Regions from separate parts of the Homo sapiens genome. Here region 2 is linked to region 1. The links are contacts of gene promoters, found by promoter capture Hi-C in blood cells and fetal thymus (Javierre and others, 2016). All regions are on one chromosome and are shown on one strand. Each heading gives the region's core, a stretch centred on a gene start or on the middle of the fragment in contact. The rest is flanking DNA. Distances are from core to core; before and after follow the strand shown.

The links. Contacts are between HindIII fragments. The CHiCAGO score rates a contact against its expected background, and 5 or more counts as called.
Region 2: a contact is called between a fragment that was not itself captured here and the fragment with the promoter of MDK in region 1, in 3 of 17 cell types (endothelial precursors, M0 macrophages and megakaryocytes). The highest score is 7.2, in endothelial precursors.

The regions. Positions count from the first base shown.
Region 1 is chr11:46,377,295-46,383,386 of GRCh38, forward strand. It overlaps MDK (midkine), which reads left to right and starts at 4,375. Exons shown (of 5, transcript NM_002391.6): 1 at 4,375-4,464; 2 at 4,763-4,839; 3 at 5,000-5,167; 4 at 5,293-5,454. The coding sequence starts at 4,764. It overlaps DGKZ (diacylglycerol kinase zeta), which reads left to right. Exons shown (of 31, transcript NM_001199267.2): 26 at 904-935; 27 at 1,163-1,206; 28 at 1,697-1,817; 29 at 1,909-1,942; 30 at 2,175-2,274; 31 at 2,537-3,257. The coding sequence ends at 2,653. RefSeq lists an enhancer at 3,106-3,740 and silencers at 3,240-3,449, 3,880-4,079, 4,510-4,619, 5,040-5,089, 5,065-5,359. The HindIII fragment of the contact is 6,060 bases long and covers 341-6,092 here.
Region 2 is chr11:46,622,300-46,628,334 of GRCh38, forward strand. The region is part of intron 1 of ATG13 (autophagy related 13); the gene reads left to right. Among named protein-coding and RNA genes, the nearest start is that of ATG13, 7.8 kb to the left of the region's middle. The HindIII fragment of the contact is 1,408 bases long and covers 2,133-3,540 here.

The sequences.
Region 1 (6,092 bases), core at 3,125-5,624:
CCCCTCCACCAGTTAACTAAATGGTGTCAACCTGAACCTGGCCAAAGCCCACCTGACGGCCTTCAGCCCTGTGGTTCTGTGGGGAAGCGGCCTCACGTCCACCCTGGTTCCCTCCCTGACTTCTCCCTCCTCTGGACCTCATCCTTCAGCCAGTCCTGGCAGCCCCCGGACCCACCACCTGAGCACTCCTCCCCACCCCTACTGCCACCAGCCCTTCCCGGCTGCCACGCCCTGGCCCCCAGCTCTTATATCCCTGTGGCCATTCGTGCCCTCGAACCCCCATCTCCATACCACGGTCAACTAAAAATGCAGAGCATACCAGGCCACTCCCCAACCTAGAAGCTTCTTTCTCAGCAGCCCTTTGGACGTGGATTCTCCCCAGGCCCCCCGTCATTGCACTGGGCTCCCAGCCCCCTCCCTGAGTTCACCTCCATGGTCCTGCCCCACTCTCTTCTCTTGGTTCTTTGAGGCATCAGGTGTTTGCCACCACTGGACTTCTGTCATCGCTGCCTCCAACTCTTCCCCCATCTTTCCGGAGCTCCCCCACCCCCATCCCCTTCGAATCTCAGCTTGGCTGTTTCCTCCTTGGAGAGATCACTCCCAGGACCCCCTCTGCAGGGGTGCCACATCACCTGTTCTGAATTCTTAAGAGCACCCCTGCTCTCAGAACTCCTTATTTATTTGACTTGTTTGTATCCCTGAACTAGAATGTAAGCTCCATGAGGGCAAGGCCTTCCTCTGTCTCGTTTCCCTGCTGTATCCCCAGTGCCTGGAATAGTGCTTGGTGTGTAGCAGGCACTCAATAAACTGTGGAAAGGATGAAGATGCCCCCAGTTGGGGTTGGGGAGGGCGACCAGCTGGCCTGTGCCGTAGCCGGTCACAGCACATCATGCTCTGTTGCAGGTCACTGCAAGGGGATGCTGCACCCCCTCAAGGTGAGGCCTCTCCCTCTGGGGCCCCTCCTTTCTGCCTGGTTGGGGGCAGGAGGCTCAGTGGGGTGGGGATAGGGCCCAGACACAGCCTTACACAAACACAGCCTTTGAGCTTCACGCACCAACGGAGCCCTGGGCACACATGCCTGGCCGGCACAGTCCTGTCCACTGAGGCACCAACCCAAGCCCAGGCCTCCGACTGCAGAGTAACAGGCAGGTATTCCGTGCAGGTGAAGAGCTGATTGAGGCTGCCAAGAGGAACGACTTCTGTAAGGTACTAGCTCCAGGCTCCAGTTCCTTCCCCCAGCAGCTCCCTCGGGCCCTGGGGAGCGAGGCCTCTGGGTTGGGCCAAGAGCTGACCTGCTCAGGTGCTGTCATCTGTCATCGTCTGGCCCTCTGTGGGATCTCCAGTGATCGTCCCATTCCACTTCACTGTATCTCTGTCTAGGCCACAATAGATGGCTCCTAGTAGGGGCTTCCTAGCTCAGTCCACCTGTCCCTGGTGCTTAGAAAGGAGCAGGTCAGAGGAAGCACTGCTCCAGGGCTTGGTCACCAGTGCTGCCAGAGAGCCCACAGGCTGTGGGGTGAGAGGCCCCTCCTCCGGTGTGCTCCAGAGAGACCCACAGAGGCAACTCAGGAGTAAGATGTGTGAGCGCACTCGTTTCAGGCCTGTGCTGGTGTACCCGGCTGTGGGCCAGCGTGTGAGCTCAGGGAAGGAGGGGTGGCCCCAGGAGGTCCAGCCCTGCCATGCCTCCTGCCCTCAGCTCCAGGAGCTGCACCGAGCTGGGGGCGACCTCATGCACCGAGACGAGCAGAGTCGCACGCTCCTGCACCACGCAGTCAGCACTGGCAGCAAGGATGTGGTCCGCTACCTGCTGGACCACGGTGAGCCGGGCAGTGGAGCCCAGGGCCTGGGGCCAAGGTGGGAGGAGGAGGGGCTGCCAGGCCTCTCTGACCACCACCTCCCCTTCTCCAGCCCCCCCAGAGATCCTTGATGCGGTGGAGGAAAAGTAAGTATCTGGGCAGTGCAGAACCGTGGTCACCCCGGAAACCACCCTTTTCCCCACCCCTCCCATTTTGTCAGGTCAGAGCCCATAAACTTCCTGGTCACATCTGTCATCCCCTGGGCCACCCCTATTGCCCCAGAGCCCTGAACTTCCTGCCCTTTCTGATGGCCCTTGGGAGACAGATGGGTGGATCAGGGGACGGGATGGGGTACACAGCCAGCCCCTGCTCCCCCAGCGGGGAGACCTGTTTGCACCAAGCAGCGGCCCTGGGCCAGCGCACCATCTGCCACTACATCGTGGAGGCCGGGGCCTCGCTCATGAAGACAGACCAGCAGGTGAGCAGACGGCAGGCAGGGAGCCCACGAGGGCACCAACCAAACCTTTCCCAAGGTCCTAGGCGGGAGCTGGGGCTGGGGGCTGTCCCTGGGAAGACACAGTCCAGACCCTGGGAAACCTGAGCCAGCAGGGGAGGAGCTGGTGGGCAGAGAGGCCTCCCTCCCTGACCAGGCCACAGGGAGGTAGAGCCCCTGCCTCTCAGCCTGCTAGGGGTTAGGCCTGCCTCTGGCCCCTGCTGATCGCAGCTCCGCCCTCCTCCAGGGCGACACTCCCCGGCAGCGGGCTGAGAAGGCTCAGGACACCGAGCTGGCCGCCTACCTGGAGAACCGGCAGCACTACCAGATGATCCAGCGGGAGGACCAGGAGACGGCTGTGTAGCGGGCCGCCCACGGGCAGCAGGAGGGACAATGCGGCCAGGGGACGAGCGCCTTCCTTGCCCACCTCACTGCCACATTCCAGTGGGACGGCCACGGGGGGACCTAGGCCCCAGGGAAAGAGCCCCATGCCGCCCCCTAAGGAGCCGCCCAGACCTAGGGCTGGACTCAGGAGCTGGGGGGGCCTCACCTGTTCCCCTGAGGACCCCGCCGGACCCGGAGGCTCACAGGGAACAAGACACGGCTGGGTTGGATATGCCTTTGCCGGGGTTCTGGGGCAGGGCGCTCCCTGGCCGCAGCAGATGCCCTCCCAGGAGTGGAGGGGCTGGAGAGGGGGAGGCCTTCGGGAAGAGGCTTCCTGGGCCCCCTGGTCTTCGGCCGGGTCCCCAGCCCCCGCTCCTGCCCCACCCCACCTCCTCCGGGCTTCCTCCCGGAAACTCAGCGCCTGCTGCACTTGCCTGCCCTGCCTTGCTTGGCACCCGCTCCGGCGACCCTCCCCGCTCCCCTGTCATTTCATCGCGGACTGTGCGGCCTGGGGGTGGGGGGCGGGACTCTCACGGTGACATGTTTACAGCTGGGTGTGACTCAGTAAAGTGGATTTTTTTTTCTTTTCTGCTTTTCTTCTTTTGCGGGGGAGGTCTAACAAGCAGCGGGGGCTGCGGGGTTGTCCTCGGGGTGGGGGACTGGACGCTGTCGACAGCACCTTCCTGGGGCCCCGGCTCCCGTTTGGTGGTTGGTCCCAGGGCCTGCCCGGTTCCTGACCTCTGCCCGGCGGCCGCGCTCGTCGGGGCCGGGGGCGGGGCCGATCCCTCCGGCTTCCCGCTTCCCGCGGAGAACAACAATGAAAGTGAAAGAGGGGTGGGGCGGGGGCGAGCCCGGGTTCTGTGGCCCATTTGCCCTGTGGCCTTGAGCAAGCCCCTCCCCCAGGCCTCGGGGGCTCTCCCGGTTTGGGGGAACCGGGCGAGGCAATGCCACAGGCCCAGGGTTAGAGGGGGTGGGCACTTGCAGCTGCCGATGTGGCTGGATCTGGAACTTCTCAGACGGCTCCTGTCAGCGCCAAGTTTCACCAAATCCAGGCCTGCGGGCTCCTCCCCCAGGACCCCCACTCGCAGTCCCTCAAGCCTGTGCTCCCGGAAAGGCACTGGGCGACCGCACCCGTGGCTTTCTCTGGGCGACCGGGTCCCAGACTCCCCCCAGCACAGCAGAGCGCTTCCCTGCCCACCCGCGGAAACCGCCCCAGGTGGGCCGCGCCCCCTCCCCAGCAGCCAGCAGGGCGCCAGGGCTGAGCCGGCCGTGGAGGGGAGCGGGTCCCGCGGGTTATACAGGCGCCGGGGCTCCGCGGCAGGCAAGAGAAGCTGAGGCCTGAGAACGGCCCGGGCCTTGGCGTACGGCAGGGGACGACCTGGGATGGGGGCAGCGGGCGGCGGCGCAGGGAGTGGGCCGGGGGCCGGTGTGCGCGGGCGGGACGGGGCCCGGGGTCGGGAGACCACCGCTCGGAAGATGGGGCCGGGAGAGGCCGCCGTCGCAGCGCAGAGGGCACCGGCGGGGAGACGCGAGGACGCGGGGCCGGGAACACGGACGCCGGAGTAGAAGCGCGGGGGGCGCGGGCTGGAGCGGGGGCGGGGACGCCGGGGTCGGGGGCGGTGCGGGTTTGAGGGGAGGGGGCGGGGCGGGTCCTTCCCTGGGGGGGTGGGGAGAGGGGGCGGGGGCCCATGTGACCGGCTCAGACCGGTTCTGGAGACAAAAGGGGCCGCGGCGGCCGGAGCGGGACGGGCCCGGCGCGGGAGGGAGCGAAGCAGCGCGGGCAGCGAGCGAGTGAGCGCGCGGCGGCCCCTGGTCCGCCCGGCCGCGGCCGATCTAGGGGCTGGGGGCTGGAGGCGGGGGTGGGGGTCTGAGCTGCGTCCTGGGCTCGAGGCGTCCCCCGGGGAGTCGCCTCTTAGCGGTGCGTCCGGGCTAGCGGCGAGGGGCCGCCCCAAGTCTTCCCACCGCCGCCACCTTAGCAGCCCGACTTGGGGCCTGGAAAGTGGAGCACGCGGAGGTGGGAGGGCCCTGCACGCGGCCCCCGGTGGGGAAGGGGACGGGCCAGGGATTCAGACTCGGGCTCTCCCCTCAGGATGCAGCACCGAGGCTTCCTCCTCCTCACCCTCCTCGCCCTGCTGGCGCTCACCTCCGCGGTCGCCAAAAAGAAAGGTGATGGGGGATGATCGAAGGAGGGCTGGGGACGGGCAGGCGAGGCCCCTCCACTTCTGGGCTGGGCCGCCTGGGTTCCTAGCCTGGAACCCCAGGAAGGCGGCTCCCGAGGGAGTCTCCCCGTGCCCCAGTCCTGAACTCTGTTCCTCGCGCGTTGTAGATAAGGTGAAGAAGGGCGGCCCGGGGAGCGAGTGCGCTGAGTGGGCCTGGGGGCCCTGCACCCCCAGCAGCAAGGATTGCGGCGTGGGTTTCCGCGAGGGCACCTGCGGGGCCCAGACCCAGCGCATCCGGTGCAGGGTGCCCTGCAACTGGAAGAAGGAGTTTGGAGGTGAGGCGGGGCGCAGTCAGAGGGCAGGAGACGGGGGGCACAGCCTCGCCGAAGCCTGGGCGGACCCTTGGCGGAGGGCGGGGCCGCGGGCCGCGCAGCGCTGACCTGGGCCGCTCTCTCGCCAGCCGACTGCAAGTACAAGTTTGAGAACTGGGGTGCGTGTGATGGGGGCACAGGCACCAAAGTCCGCCAAGGCACCCTGAAGAAGGCGCGCTACAATGCTCAGTGCCAGGAGACCATCCGCGTCACCAAGCCCTGCACCCCCAAGACCAAAGCAAAGGCCAAAGGTCAGCGAAAGGAGAAGGGGGTGGGGCTGTCGCGGGGGGCTGCCCCCCCCCCCCCCCGCCTGTGAGGGGACAATTCCAAGTTAAACCTTAAGTTTTGAGTCCTGGCCAGTGGCTTCCTGACATCGCCTCACTTGGCTTCCCTGCCTGGAAAAGTCTGAAGATGGGCACTACAAGAGAGGCCGCAGGTGATGCTGGGGACATAAATCCTCCCTGGCCCAAATAGGGACCAACTCAAACTACTCCATTGGAGCATCTGGCTTAGGACCCAGGGAGAGTGTCCTGGAACGGCTTGCCTTTGTCAGCTCTCCAGCCACGGGCAGCATTTGGTCAGCTCTGCCCTTTCTAGTGTTGGGAGGAGGTCAAGGCCCACCCTGGGCCTCTCAGCTCACTCGTGACTCAGCCCAGCGAGGCCAGCAGGGCAGGGGTGAATCTGCCCGCTTCTCAGGTGAGGAGGCTGAGGATGCCCAGGGCTGCTGTGACCAGGACTAGGACTGGAAACTTGAAGGTTTTCTGATCCCAAGTGGAAATAGGAAGCTGGGGATGTCCCATGTCCACATCACAATGGCTGCCCCATCCCCTGCTTCCGAGTCAGCTGATTGGAAACCACTAGGGGGCAGAATCTTCTCCTTCCCTGATGC
Region 2 (6,035 bases), core at 1,587-4,086, 240 kb after region 1:
GTAGAGACGGGGTTTCACCATGTTAGCCAAGATGGTCTCGATCTCCTGACCTCGTGATCCGCCTGCCTCGGTCTCCCAAAGTGCTGGGATTACAGGCGTGAGCCACCGCACCTGGCCAAGAATGCATTAAAATATTTTAAATAATTTTTTGTTGTTTAAAAGTGAAAAAAATATAAACAAGAAACTGATTCACTCCCTTACTTCATGCATTCATCATCTAAACCAAAAACAAAATTTTAAAGCAAGAACAAACTACTGCGGAAAGTTTTTGTAAGTCCATTTTCTCTGTACATTCAAACTGCTGACTACTGAAGGGAAAAAAATATAATCCATGGTGTCTGCTGAATCAAAGGGGAGAAACAAGGCTGTCATTTAGTATCCAAAAACTGATACACGTATGTTCTGCTTTTATAATGTGTATTTTTCTCTCTTCTGTTTTTCATATCCAAAACTTGTAAATGCTATTTTAGGGGCAAAGCAGATTAGATTCCAACACTTGTTGAACAGAATTCACAAGCTGTGACAAAACTCTGTCATCTTCGGGGTGCAATTTTGTTTATATACACTGTATGTATATATTTCTTTTAGATTTGGCTGTAGTGGACTGGCCGTGGTTCAAGTGCCACCTTCATTCTAAGGCAAGGATATGCTGTGATGAAATCTTGGAAGTACAGCTAGAGTCATCATTCTAGCTGTTTGAAAAAGTGTATTTGGGCCGGGTGCCGTGGCTCATGCCTGTAATCCCAGCACTTTGGGAGGCCAAGGCGGGCGGATCACGAGGTCGGGAGACCATCCGGGCTAACACGGTGAAACCCTGTCTCTACTAAAAATACAAAAAAAAAAAATTAGCCGTGTGTGGTGGCGGGCACCTGGGGTCCCAGCTATTCTGGAGGCTGAGGCAGGAGAATGGCACGAACCTGGGAGGTGGAGTTTGCAGTGAGCCGAGATTGTGCCACTGCACTCCAGTCTGGGCAACAGAGCAAGACCCCGTCTCAAAGAAAAGAAAAAGTGCATTTGAAGTACGTCCATAAAGAAAGAGACCTAATTTTAGAAGACATTTATGCTGGGTGAAAGTTTTTCTCCACTCTATTATGGACCATATGATGGCAACTAGTTTTGTTTTTTTGTTTTTGTTTTTGTTTTTTTGAGACAGAGTCTCACTCTGTCACCTATGCTGGAGTGCAGTGGCGCAGTCTTGGCTCACTGCAACCTCTGCCTCCCGGGTTCAAGCAGTTCTCCTGCCTCAGCCTCCCAAGTAGCTGGGATTACAGGTGTGCACCACCACACCCGGCTAATTTTTGTATTTTTAGTAGAAATGGGGTTTCACCATGTTGGCCAGGCTGGTCTCGAACTCCTGACCTCAGATGATCTGCCCGCCTTGGCCTCCCAAAGTGCTGGGATTACAGGCCTGAGCCACCGTGCCTGGCTGGCAACTAGTTTTTTTATTTGTTAATTTGATTTTTTTTAATTCAAATCTACAGAAAAGTTGGAAGAATATTACAGTGAATTTTTATGTACTCTTCCCTTAGATTTGCACATTGTTCACTCTTTACCACATTACTTTCTTTCTCCTATATATTGTATAACTATTATTTTTGCATTATATTTACACATTCTTATTCTTTTTTTTTTTTCTGAACCCTTCAGAGATGTTACTTATATCTCATGAATAAGAATGTGGACCAAAATGTAATTTTATCAAATTCAGGAATTTTTTTTTTTTTTGAGATGGAGTCTCGCTGTCACCCAGGCTGGAGTACAGTGGCGCAATCTCGGCTCCCTGCAACCTCCACCTCCTGGGTTCAAACGATTCTCCTGCCTCAGCCTCCTGAGTAGCTGGGACTACAGGCATGCGTCACCACACCTGGCTCATTTTTGTATTTTACTAGAGAAAGGGTTTCGCCATGTTGGCCAGGCTGGTCTCGAACTCTTGACCTCAAGTGTTTACACTCCTCAGCCTGCCAAAGTGCTGGGATTACAAAGGTGAGCCACCACAACCAGCCAAATTCAGGAAATTTAATATTGATGCAATACTGTTACCTAGTATACAGTTGGGTTCAAATGTTGCCAGTTGTTTCAGTACTGTCCTTCACAGAAACTTTTTAAGAAATCCAGGAACTGGTCCAGCATCAAGCTTTGCATTTAGTTGTCACACTTTATTCTCCTTTAATCTAAAATGGATCTTCAGATTTTTTTTTTTTTGTTCTTTTATAACACTGACGTTTTTGAAGAGTGACGAGCCCATTATATTATTAAATTTTCAGCCTTTCAATTTGAGCTTGTCCAATCACTTCCTCATGGTTAGTTTCAGGTTATACAGTTTTAGCAAGAAAGCTATGTAAGTAATACATCACATCAGAAGGGATGTGAAGTCAGTTTCTTCAATTGTTGTCCAGGCCAAGGTGAAAGTTCCCCCTCACCCTTGAAAAAATCAGCTCATTAGCTCATTGGCTGGGCATGATTGCTCATGCTGTAATAATCATAGCACTTTGGGAGGCTGAGGTGAGAGGATTGCCTGAGCGCAAGAGTTTGAGACCAGCCTGAGCAACATAGTGAGATGCTGTCTTTACAAAAAAATAAAAAATTACCTGGGCATGGTGGTGTGCACCTGTAGTCCCAGCTGAGGTGGGAGGATTGCTTGAGCCTGGGAGGTCCAGGCTGCAGTGAGCCATGATCATCATGGCACTCCAGCCTGAGCAACAGAGACCTTGTCTCCAAAAGATAATCAACTCATTCACAAGGCCAGGTTCAGTGGCTCACACCTGTAATCCTAATCCCAACACTTTAGGAGGCCAAGATGGGAGGATCACTTGAAGCCAGGAGTTCCAGACCAGCCTGGGCAACATATCAAGATCGCGTTGCTACCAAAAAAAAAAAAGAAAAATCAACTCACAAAAGGCATATGAATTGGAAAAAAAGGCATACAGATTTTTTTTTTCCTAAGGTACTTTTGCTATAGCTTGCTCTTTCTTTTTTTTTTTTTTTTTTTTTTTTGATACAGGGTTTTGCTTTGTCACCCAGGCTGGAGTGCAATGACATGATCACAGCTCACTGCAGCCATACCTCCTGGGTTCGAGTGATCTTCCCACATCAGCCTCCTGAGTAGCTGGGACTATAGGTGAGCATCACCACACCCAGCCAGTTTTTTGTATTTTTGTAGATAAATGTTACCCAGCCTGATCTTGAACTCCTGAGCTCAAGCTATCCTCCTGCCTCGGCCTCCTAAAGTATTGAGATTATAGGCGTGAGTCACTGGGCTGGCCAAGGCATACAAATTTATCACAGAGTGATTGCCCATCCCCCCAGGTGGTTCAGAGGTTATATACCATTCTGGCAAAACAGGTTATGGAAACCTGGAGAAGAGGAATTCCGCTGAGGGGATTACTAGGGAGAATGAATGGATCAGGGAACAGAGATTAACCTGCACATTATCTTGTGAAAGGGTCCATTTAGGTGTGGTTACATTTGTGGTGTTACAACATACAGAAGAACAGTTGTTCCTTTAGGTGGGTCTGGATTTTAGGCGCATAAAGGAATTTAAGCTTTACTGTATGCTTTGGAAGAGAAGGTTTGTGTGGATGGAGTGAGGTGTCAGAGATACCTTGAGGCTTCTTTGGTTAGCATAGCCATATTTGGGGGTATTGATTTCTTTTGTTTCTTTCGTTTGTTTGTTTGTTTTTGAGACGGAGTCTGTCGCCCAGGCTGGAGTACAGTGATGTGATCTTGGCTCACTGCAAGCTCCGTCTCCCAGGTTCACACCATTCTCCTGCCTCAGCCTCCCAAGTAGCTGGGACTACAGGTGCCCACCACCACGCCCAGCTAATTTTTTGTGTTTTTAGTAGAGACAGGGTTTCACCATGTTAGCCAGGATGGTCTTGATCTCCTGACCTTGTGATCCACCCGCCTCGGCCTCCCAAAGTACTGGGATTACAGGCGTGAGCCACCGCACTTGGCCTCTTTTGTTTTTTGAGACGGGAGTTTCACTCTTGTGCCCAGGCTGGAGTGCAGTGGCACAACCTCAGCTCACTGCAGCCTCTACCTCCTGGGTTCAGATGATTCTCCTGCCTCATCCTCCCGAGTTGCTGAGATTACAGGCACGCACCACCATGCCTGGCTAATTTCTTATTTTGAGTAGAGACAGGGTTTCACCATATTGGCCAGGCTGATCTCGAACTCCTGACCTCAGGTGATCCGTCCGCCTCCGCCTCCCAGAGTGCTGGGATTACAAGCGTGAGCCACTGCGCCCGGCCTGGGTATTGATTTCTGAGCCCCAATATCAGTATGTTATCTTTGATGACTTTGTTAAGATTGTATCCACCAGGTTTCTCTTTGTAATTAATAAGTAGTAACCTGTGTTCCCATAGATTGTGTAAATATCTCATTTGTAAATAAAGTTTCACCCAGAAATTTTAGCATTCCTTGGTGATTTGCTTGAACCAGTTATTCCTATAATGGTTACAAAATTGTCATTTTCTAAGTCTGCTATTCTTACATTTATTTATTGTATTATACTATAAAGAAGTATTTTCCCCATCTTCATTTATTGCACAGCTCCCTTTGAAACCACAGTGTTAGGAGGAAGGTGTAAACATTTGCTATAGAAAAAAAGGACTATGTCAGGAAAGGATTGTATCTGCTCTTCCACTGTTAGTTTAAGAAATAAGGTCGGGTGCGGTAATCCTGTAATCCCAGCACTGTGGAAAGCCGAGGTGGATGGATCACTTGAGGCCAGGAGTTCGAGACCAGCCTGGCCAACATGGCAAAACCTCATCTCTACTAAAAATAAGATAATTAGCCCGGGCCGGGCGTGATGGCTCACGCCTGTAATCCCAGCACTGTGGGAGGCCGCAGTGGGCAGATACCTGAGGTCAGGAGTTTGAGTCCAGTCTGGCCAACATGATGAAACCCTATCTCTACAAAAATATGAAAATTAGCTGGGCATGATGGCAGGTGCCTGTAATTTCAGCTACTTGGGAGGCTGAGGCAGAAGAATCACTTGAACTTGGGAGGCGGAGGTTGCAGTGAGCCGAGATTGCACCACTGCACTCCATCCAGGGCGACAGAGCAAGACTCTGTCTCAAAAAATAAATAAATAAATACAGAGAAATGTAAAATTATAAATTAAATTTTAATGCTTCCAAAACCTACATGTTCTCGCATGATAAACATGAGTTTAAAAGCTTTTTTTGAGAAGAAGTTTTGCTCTTGTTGCCCAGGCTGGAGTGCAATGGCGCGATCTCAGCTCACTGCGACCTTCGCCTCCTGGGTTCAAGCGATTCTCCTGCCTCAGCCTCCCAAGTAGCTGGGATTACAGGCATGTGTCACCATGCCTGGCTAATTTTTTTATTTTTTTATTTTTAATAGAGATGGGGTTTCTCCATGTTCATCAGGCTGGTCTCGAACTCCTGATCTCAGGTGATCTGCCCGCCTCGGTATCCCAGAGTGCTGGGGTTACAGGTGTGAGCCACCGTGCCTGGCCTGAATTTAAGAGCATTTTTAAGGCCAAGCGCAGTGGCTCATGCCTGCAATCCCCAGCAGTCTGGGAGGCTGAGACGGGAGGATTGCTTGAGCCCAGGAGTTCACAACCAGCCTGGGCAACAAGGCAAAGCCCCATCTCTACAAAAAAATACAAAAAATTAGCTGGGTGTGGTGGCATGCTAGTAGTCCCAGCTACTCCTGAGGCTGAAGTGGGAGAATCACCTGAGTCCAGCAGGTTGAGGCTGCAGTGAGCTGTGATCGGGCCACTGCACTCTAACCTGGACAAAGGATTGAGACCTTGTCTCAAAAAAAAAAAAAAAAAAAGGCAGGAAAAAAAGCATTTTGGCCAGGCATGGTAGCTCACGCCTGTAATCCCAGCATTTGGGAGACCGAGGTGGGCAGATCACCTGAGGTCAGGAGTTCTAGATCAGCTTGGCCAACACGGTGAAACCCCATCTCCATTAAAAATACAAAAATAAGCTGGTGTGGTGGCATGTGCCTCTGGTCTCAGCTACTCGGGAGGCTGAAGCAGGAGAATCACTTGAACCTGGCAGGTG